Regions from separate parts of the Homo sapiens genome. Here region 1 is linked to region 2. Evidence: promoter capture Hi-C in human tissues and cell types (Jung and others, 2019). All regions are on one chromosome and are shown on one strand. The core of a region is centred on a gene start or on the middle of the fragment in contact, and the rest is flanking DNA. Distances in the headings are between cores, read along the strand shown. Region 1 overlaps SAP30BP (SAP30 binding protein). Region 2 holds the start of MYO15B (myosin XVB).

Region 1 (3,552 bases), core at 258-2,757, 120 kb after region 2:
ACGTGGGAGCTGGTGCAAGGGGATAGTTGGGGTTTCTCATTCTTAACCCTTGATTGAATCTCCCTTCTCTCTCTTTCCCTCTCCCTTCCAAACCCCAGGCTTGTTGCAGGGACGTGTCTGCAGCGCCTGGGGACCGGAGCTGTCCTTCCCCTGTGCGGGCGGGCACCGCCTCCTCCTGGGTGTGAGGAGGAGGGGCCTGGCCAAACGGTTCTGGGCATGTGAGGTGGGGCGGTGGGCGGGGGGTGCCGGGCATGTGCAGAGACCTGGTGATGCCGGGAGGGATACAGTACTGTTTGGAAAGTTCTTTTAAGAGTGAAAAGCCCCTTTGGGTTCTTCTTAGACATCTCGCCCTACCCCAGATGGGCAGAGCAGAGTTCATTTCCAATGCCTCTTTTGTGTAGTGCCAAGCTCCTGTCCCCCAGGAGCTGACGGATGGCAAAAAGCTGTGGACACCCAGCTTTGCCTGGTCTTATTCTCTTCCCTCTCCCTCTCCAGATTGAGTTTGTGACGGGCACCAAAAAAGGCACCACGACCAACGCCACGTCCACCACCACTACCACTGCCAGCACAGCTGTTGCAGGTAGATTGCAGAGCTGCCCTGCCTCCTGCCACACACATGGAGCCAGGGTCTCCCTGGCTTGTTTGGGCGACAGACAGCACGTGGATCTGGGCCTGGGCTCAGCCTTGCTACTTTGAGAAGCACCTTTGGAGTCTGGGGTGGGCCACTTCGGGGTCTGCTCCCTAGACTCCCGCTGGCCTGCAGGGGGAAGGGAAAGAGGGCACCGCTCATTGGTGGATCGTGATCCTGATTTCTGCTTTATCTCCAGATGCTCAGAAGAGAAAGAGCAAGTGGGATTCGGCTATCCCAGTGACAACGATAGCCCAGCCCACCATCCTCACCACCACAGCCACCCTGCCAGCTGTTGTCACGGTCACCACCAGCGCCAGCGGCTCCAAGACCACCGTCATCTCTGCTGTGGGCACCATTGTGAAGAAGGCCAAGCAGTGACCTGAGGGGCCACCCTAGGACTTGAAAGGACCGTGCAGCCCAGTGACCACTGCCCAGTGGGAGGCGCCACTTTGTATATTTCAGGACTGGGACCTACTCCCCAGATGCCACCTGAGAGGAGCTTCTGTTTGGCATTCCAGATGGAAGGACAGGCAGCACGGGAGCCAGGCGCTGTGGACAGGGTCTGTCCACGCACCACCTGGGGTCTGCCGCCTATTAAAAGTGCCGTATTCTTACCTCTTGGCATCTCAGATGCACTGGCCTCTCCTGCATTCTGTTTGCAGGCAAATGCTTCAGCTCACATGTCCCCCAAGACTCAATAGTCTTGGTTGGGACTATTGCCTCAGGGTTGACAACAGGGTGATGGAGGCCTGGGACGCTGTTCAGAGGGGTGACCCAAGAAGTCACCGTTGTTATCCGTGTATGCCTCTGGGCATGGACAGGCGGGAGTCCCCGAGCCCCACGTATGCCCCATCTGCCGCCTTGATCCCAAAACCCAGCCAGTTCTCGGGTGATGGTGGAGCTGTGCTCCCTTGAGTGCACTTGAGCACTCCCCAGACCAGATCACTTTTTGGACACACCCAGGAAGGCTTTTGAAGTCAAGCCAGTTTCCAGAAGGGCTGGGGTGAGATCCTGACCTGTGCAGAGAGTGGGGAGGCGTCAGCGCCTGGCCAGGGCTGCCCCAGTCCTTTGGTGCCCGGTGAGCGCAGCCAGCAGGAGCTGAGCAGCGGGGGAGATGAATCACCTCCTGCCTTGGCGAGGCGGCAGCTCATTGTTTACAGGCAAGCCCTGCTCCTGGGAGGGCTCCTGCCACCCCACCCTTCCTCTGTGTGTTATCTCTGCCCCACAGCAGCCCCTGGGCAGCACCAGTGGCCACTGGGCTCCCCCCGGGGTTGAAACGGGTTTCCCAGACCAGGGGTTCAGAGGAGACTATTTACCCTTCATGATCTTTGGCGATTCTCCACTGGAGCGGAAGGGCTGTGTGTCAAAAGAAGGAAGCCAGGCTGTGAAGGGCCGTGTTGCTTTCAGTGGGTGGGCAGAGGTTTAGAAAGGTGGTTCTGAAATGGCACCTGGTACTCTTGTGGGACCTGGGGAATATAAGGAACTCTGTGCATGAGGTTTCAAAAATAAAAATTGAGTCCACTCTCCCCGTACACACACACTCGGGCACTTCAGGAGGTCAGTTCTCACCCCTTCCTCGATGGGGCTTTAAAGCTCTGGGGAGAAGAGCTGCTCCCCACTCATGCCCCAGAGGGACTGTGAAAAGGCTTCCTGTGACCTCCGATGGCGGCCCCTCATTGGCCAAGGGCACTGTGGATGTTTTGTGGGAGGCAGCATGGCACCGTGGAAAGGGCAGTAGACGTGGAGCCGGCACCTCTGGTCTGGATTCCACTTAAAACCAGTTGAGTGGTCTCAAGCCCTTAACCTCTGTAAGCCTGTTTCTTCTCTGAAATCACAGTAATAAAGCGTCGTAAGATGGTTGGGAAGAACCAGAGGTGACTTATGCAAAAGCTTTATAAACTGTAAAGTTCCTGCCAGTGTTTTTTGTTGGCTAAATCCAATTTTTTTTTGTTGTAGACCAAGGAGAGAAGCAAACTCCTGGCCTGTCCCCCGTCTCGTGCTCTGTCGGCGGGGTAGGGTTTGGCAGGTCTTTCCCCTCCCCGCTTTCCTCTGGGCAGCCCTGGCGCTGCCATTCATCTGTCCAGTTAAAGCAGTAATGACTGTCTCCTGCGGGGCCGCAGAGGTAGGGGGCCTGGAGAATGAACATAGGCTTAGAAGTTGGGCAACCCCAGGCCAAAACTGCTGCCCCACTTACCAGCCTCGTGAGTTGGGTCAAGGTTTTTAATCCTTCTAGACTTTCATTTACTCTTCTATAAAATGGTGCTTGCCCACCTTAGTCACATCAAGGATGGCCCAGAGGTGTGTGAACAGTTCCTGTTGTGGGTGGATGGCCCAGGCACTAGGGGCCAAAGTTGTTTCTAACCAGTGTGTGTCTGCTCGCCAGAGAACAGTGTCCAAACTGAACTCTGTCCACGGCTCCTACTGTCCCCCACCCACACACCTGCTACCTCTCCCGAGGGCTCTGATCTTGGGTGGGCATCAGGATTCATTTAGCTTCCCACCTTGCACATGTAGTACCCCAAGATGTGTCTCAGGTTTGTATAATCCCCTCCTGACTCTGCTGGACAGGTAGGTGCTCCTTTCTCAACACTCACAGCACCCCCTTGCTTTTAGGATCACACTGAACTGCCGTGTAATCTCTGCCCACAAGCGGGATGAGACAGCTCATGTCTCCTAGTTCTTGTAAGCAGAAACAAAGCAGGCATAAATAACACTCTGCTCCAGTGCCTGGCATGAGATAAGTACACAGGTGGTTGGGGGAATGGAGGGATGAAAGGAGAGGTGAGTTTGCTCATCTTCCAAAGGGGTGGTCTCTGCTCCTAGGGTCACTGAAATGAAAGTTTCCAGCCCCCAAGCCCTGTGCTCACAGCATCACTCAAGCCTCCTAGGGCTCGATTTCCAAAGGGCTGCTGTCGATTGGT
Region 2 (2,500 bases), core at 1-2,500:
GCATGTGCCACCACACCTAGGTAATTTTTGTATTTTTAGTAGAGATGGGGTTTCACCATGTTGGCCAGGCAGATCTCGAACTCCTGACATCAGGTGATCCACCCACTTCGGCCTCCCAAAATGCTGGGATTACAGGCATGAGCCACCTCACTTGGCCAGGATCCACTTTGGATGTAGAAACCCATCAATAAGGAATTGGTTCAACCATGGTGCATTTATTTGCAAGGAAGAGAGGGAGGAGAGAAGGGAGGAAGGCAGGCTGGCTTTTTATGGTATTATTATGAAATCACCAGATTACATTGTTAAGTGAAAAAGGCAAAGTGGAGACCCCGGAGCTACATAAGCTACCACTTGTGCTAAAGGGGAAAAATATAATATTTGCTTTTCTCTGCATGGAAAGTTTTTGTTGTTGTTTCTTTGTTTTTGAGACAAACAAAATGCTGTCACCCAGGCTGGAGTGCAGTGGTGTGATCTCAGCTCACTGCAAGCTCTGCCTCCTGGGTTCATGCCATTCTCTCCTGCCTCCTGGGTTCATGCCATTCTCTTGCCTCAGCCTCCCGAGTAGCTGGGACTACAGGCGCCCCCCACCACGACCGGCTAATTTATCGTATTTTTTAGTAGAGACGGGGGTTTCACCATGTTAGCCAGGATGGTCTCCATCTCCTGACCTCGTGATCCGCCCTCCTTGGCCTCCCAGAGTGCTGGGATTACAGGCGTGAGCCACCGCGCCCGGCCAACCTGGAAAATTTTGCAAGGAAATACAGAAATGGGTAACCTCAGGGGAACACTGAGTACATAGGCTGAGGGTCAGGAATGGGAGACTTTTATCTTGTAATGTTTGGATGTTTGAATTATGTGAATGTATTACCTGTTTTAAAAATAGATATTTTAAAAACACACACATTGGGGCAATCAGGAATGTATGGGGTGTGGTTCTGTTCCACAACTCCAAGGAGGTAGACAGGCATGTTTTACACCAGTTCAAGATGTACATTTATGTTTTATGTACTTTTCGGTAAATTGTATTTATTCCACAATTGAAAAGAACAAAAACCCTAGCGACTCATGGAGTGCTGCCGTGTGCCAGGGTGGGCCTGGCCCCAGTCCCTTGGAACCCTCAGAAGGAAGAAGTCCAGACAGGTTCTCTGGGCCCTTCCTTGCTGGGCAAGCACTGAGGTGGGAGTGGAGCATGGACCCCCTCAGTCTGGCGCGGTGCGAGGCTGGCCTGGCTGGCAGCGCCTCCCGGCGGCACTGTTGCCCTGTCCGCAGCTGTAGCGTCTCCTGTTTCCTGGGCGCCTCTATTCCATTGTTGGCCGAGGGGGTCAGGACCCGCCGCCTTCTGCATTATTGATGGTCCTGTAAGGCGGGCACCTCGGGGAGTAGAGCCTGTAGCCCCTGCGAGAGCAGAGCCGGGTGGTGCACTGCACAGAAGGTCACCGCGGGAGGCCAAATCCCCGGGGAGGGGAAAGGACCTGGGCGTCGGGAAGCCCGTCTCCTTTGGGCCAGCCATGGGCAGGAACCAGCGCAAAGCGCCCCAGCGCCTGGAGAGGCCCGGGAGGCCGGCCTCAGGGGAGCAGGAGTCGGGGTCGGCCAGCGCGGATGGCGCGCCCAGCCGGGAACGCCGTTCCGACCGCGGGCAGGCGGACAGGGCGAAACCGGCGGCCGAGCCTGCCACCGCCGGGGGCCAGGGAACCCCTGGTGGCCGCAGGAAGCCCACTGCAGAGGGGAACGGCGGCTGCAGACGCCCAGGGGCTGGGCTGTCCCCGAAAGCCCAGGAGAGGCAAAGCAACGCGCAGCGTCAGGGACGCGGGCCCAGGGGCGGCCGCGGGGGGCGCCTGGAGGAGGGAAGCCTCTCCGGAGGAGAAGAGCTGGGCGGCCGCCGTAGGAGGAAGCGGAAAGATAAGGGGCCCTCGGCTCGGCGGGGCCGCCGGACGCCCAGGAGCCTCAATGGGGACACGTCGGGTGGGGACGGAGGCAGCTCCTGTCCGGACAGCGAAACCCGCGAGGCCCAGGAGAGCGGCAGCCAGCGCGGCACAGCCCGGGAGCTGCGGCCCACGCCGGAGCCTACGGACATGGGCTCGGAAGGGACAAAAACCGGGCCGGAGTCAGCGCTGGAGCCAAGCAGCGACGGCCTGGACAGCGACTGGCCCCACGCAGATACCCGGGGCCGGGAAGGGTCGTCGGGGACGGGGCCCCTGGGAGCCAGCGAGCATTCCGGCGGGGACTCCGACTCGAGTCCGCTGGGGACCGGACCTGGACGGGGCTCTCGGGCAGCTATGGCCTCCAGGACCTTCGAGGACAGCTCGCGGGCTCCTCGGGACACTGGGCCGGCCAAGGACGCGAGCGACAACCGGGCGCAGCGGGGCGCCGAGCCAGAAACAATGCAGGCCTCGACGGCCCGGGCTCCGCGCCACCAGGTCGGAAAGGCGGTGGGGCAGGTGCCAGCGGCGGCAGGCGAGGGCGAAGCGGGAGCCGCAGCAGGAGCGGGGCCGGAGGACCC

Evidence for each region. Contacts are between HindIII fragments. The study calls those that stand out against the background at their distance.
Region 1: a contact is called between a fragment that was not itself captured here and the fragment with the promoter of MYO15B in region 2, in 3 of the 25 tissues and cell types used here (IMR-90 fibroblasts, small bowel and spleen).

What each region holds. Positions count from the first base shown.
Region 1 is chr17:75,705,513-75,709,064 of GRCh38, forward strand. It overlaps SAP30BP (SAP30 binding protein), which reads left to right. Exons shown (of 11, transcript NM_013260.8): 10 at 496-580; 11 at 828-2,547. The coding sequence ends at 1,009. Among named protein-coding and RNA genes, the nearest start is that of ITGB4, 14 kb to the right of the region's middle. RefSeq lists an enhancer at 879-2,078. The HindIII fragment of the contact is 8,365 bases long and covers 1-3,552 here.
Region 2 is chr17:75,586,550-75,589,049 of GRCh38, forward strand. MYO15B (myosin XVB) reads left to right here and starts at 1,251. Exons shown (of 64, transcript NM_001395058.1): 1 at 1,251-2,500. The coding sequence starts at 1,509. RefSeq lists enhancers at 1,067-1,900, 1,403-1,472, 1,901-2,500 and a silencer at 2,353-2,482. The HindIII fragment of the contact is 22,601 bases long and covers 1-2,500 here.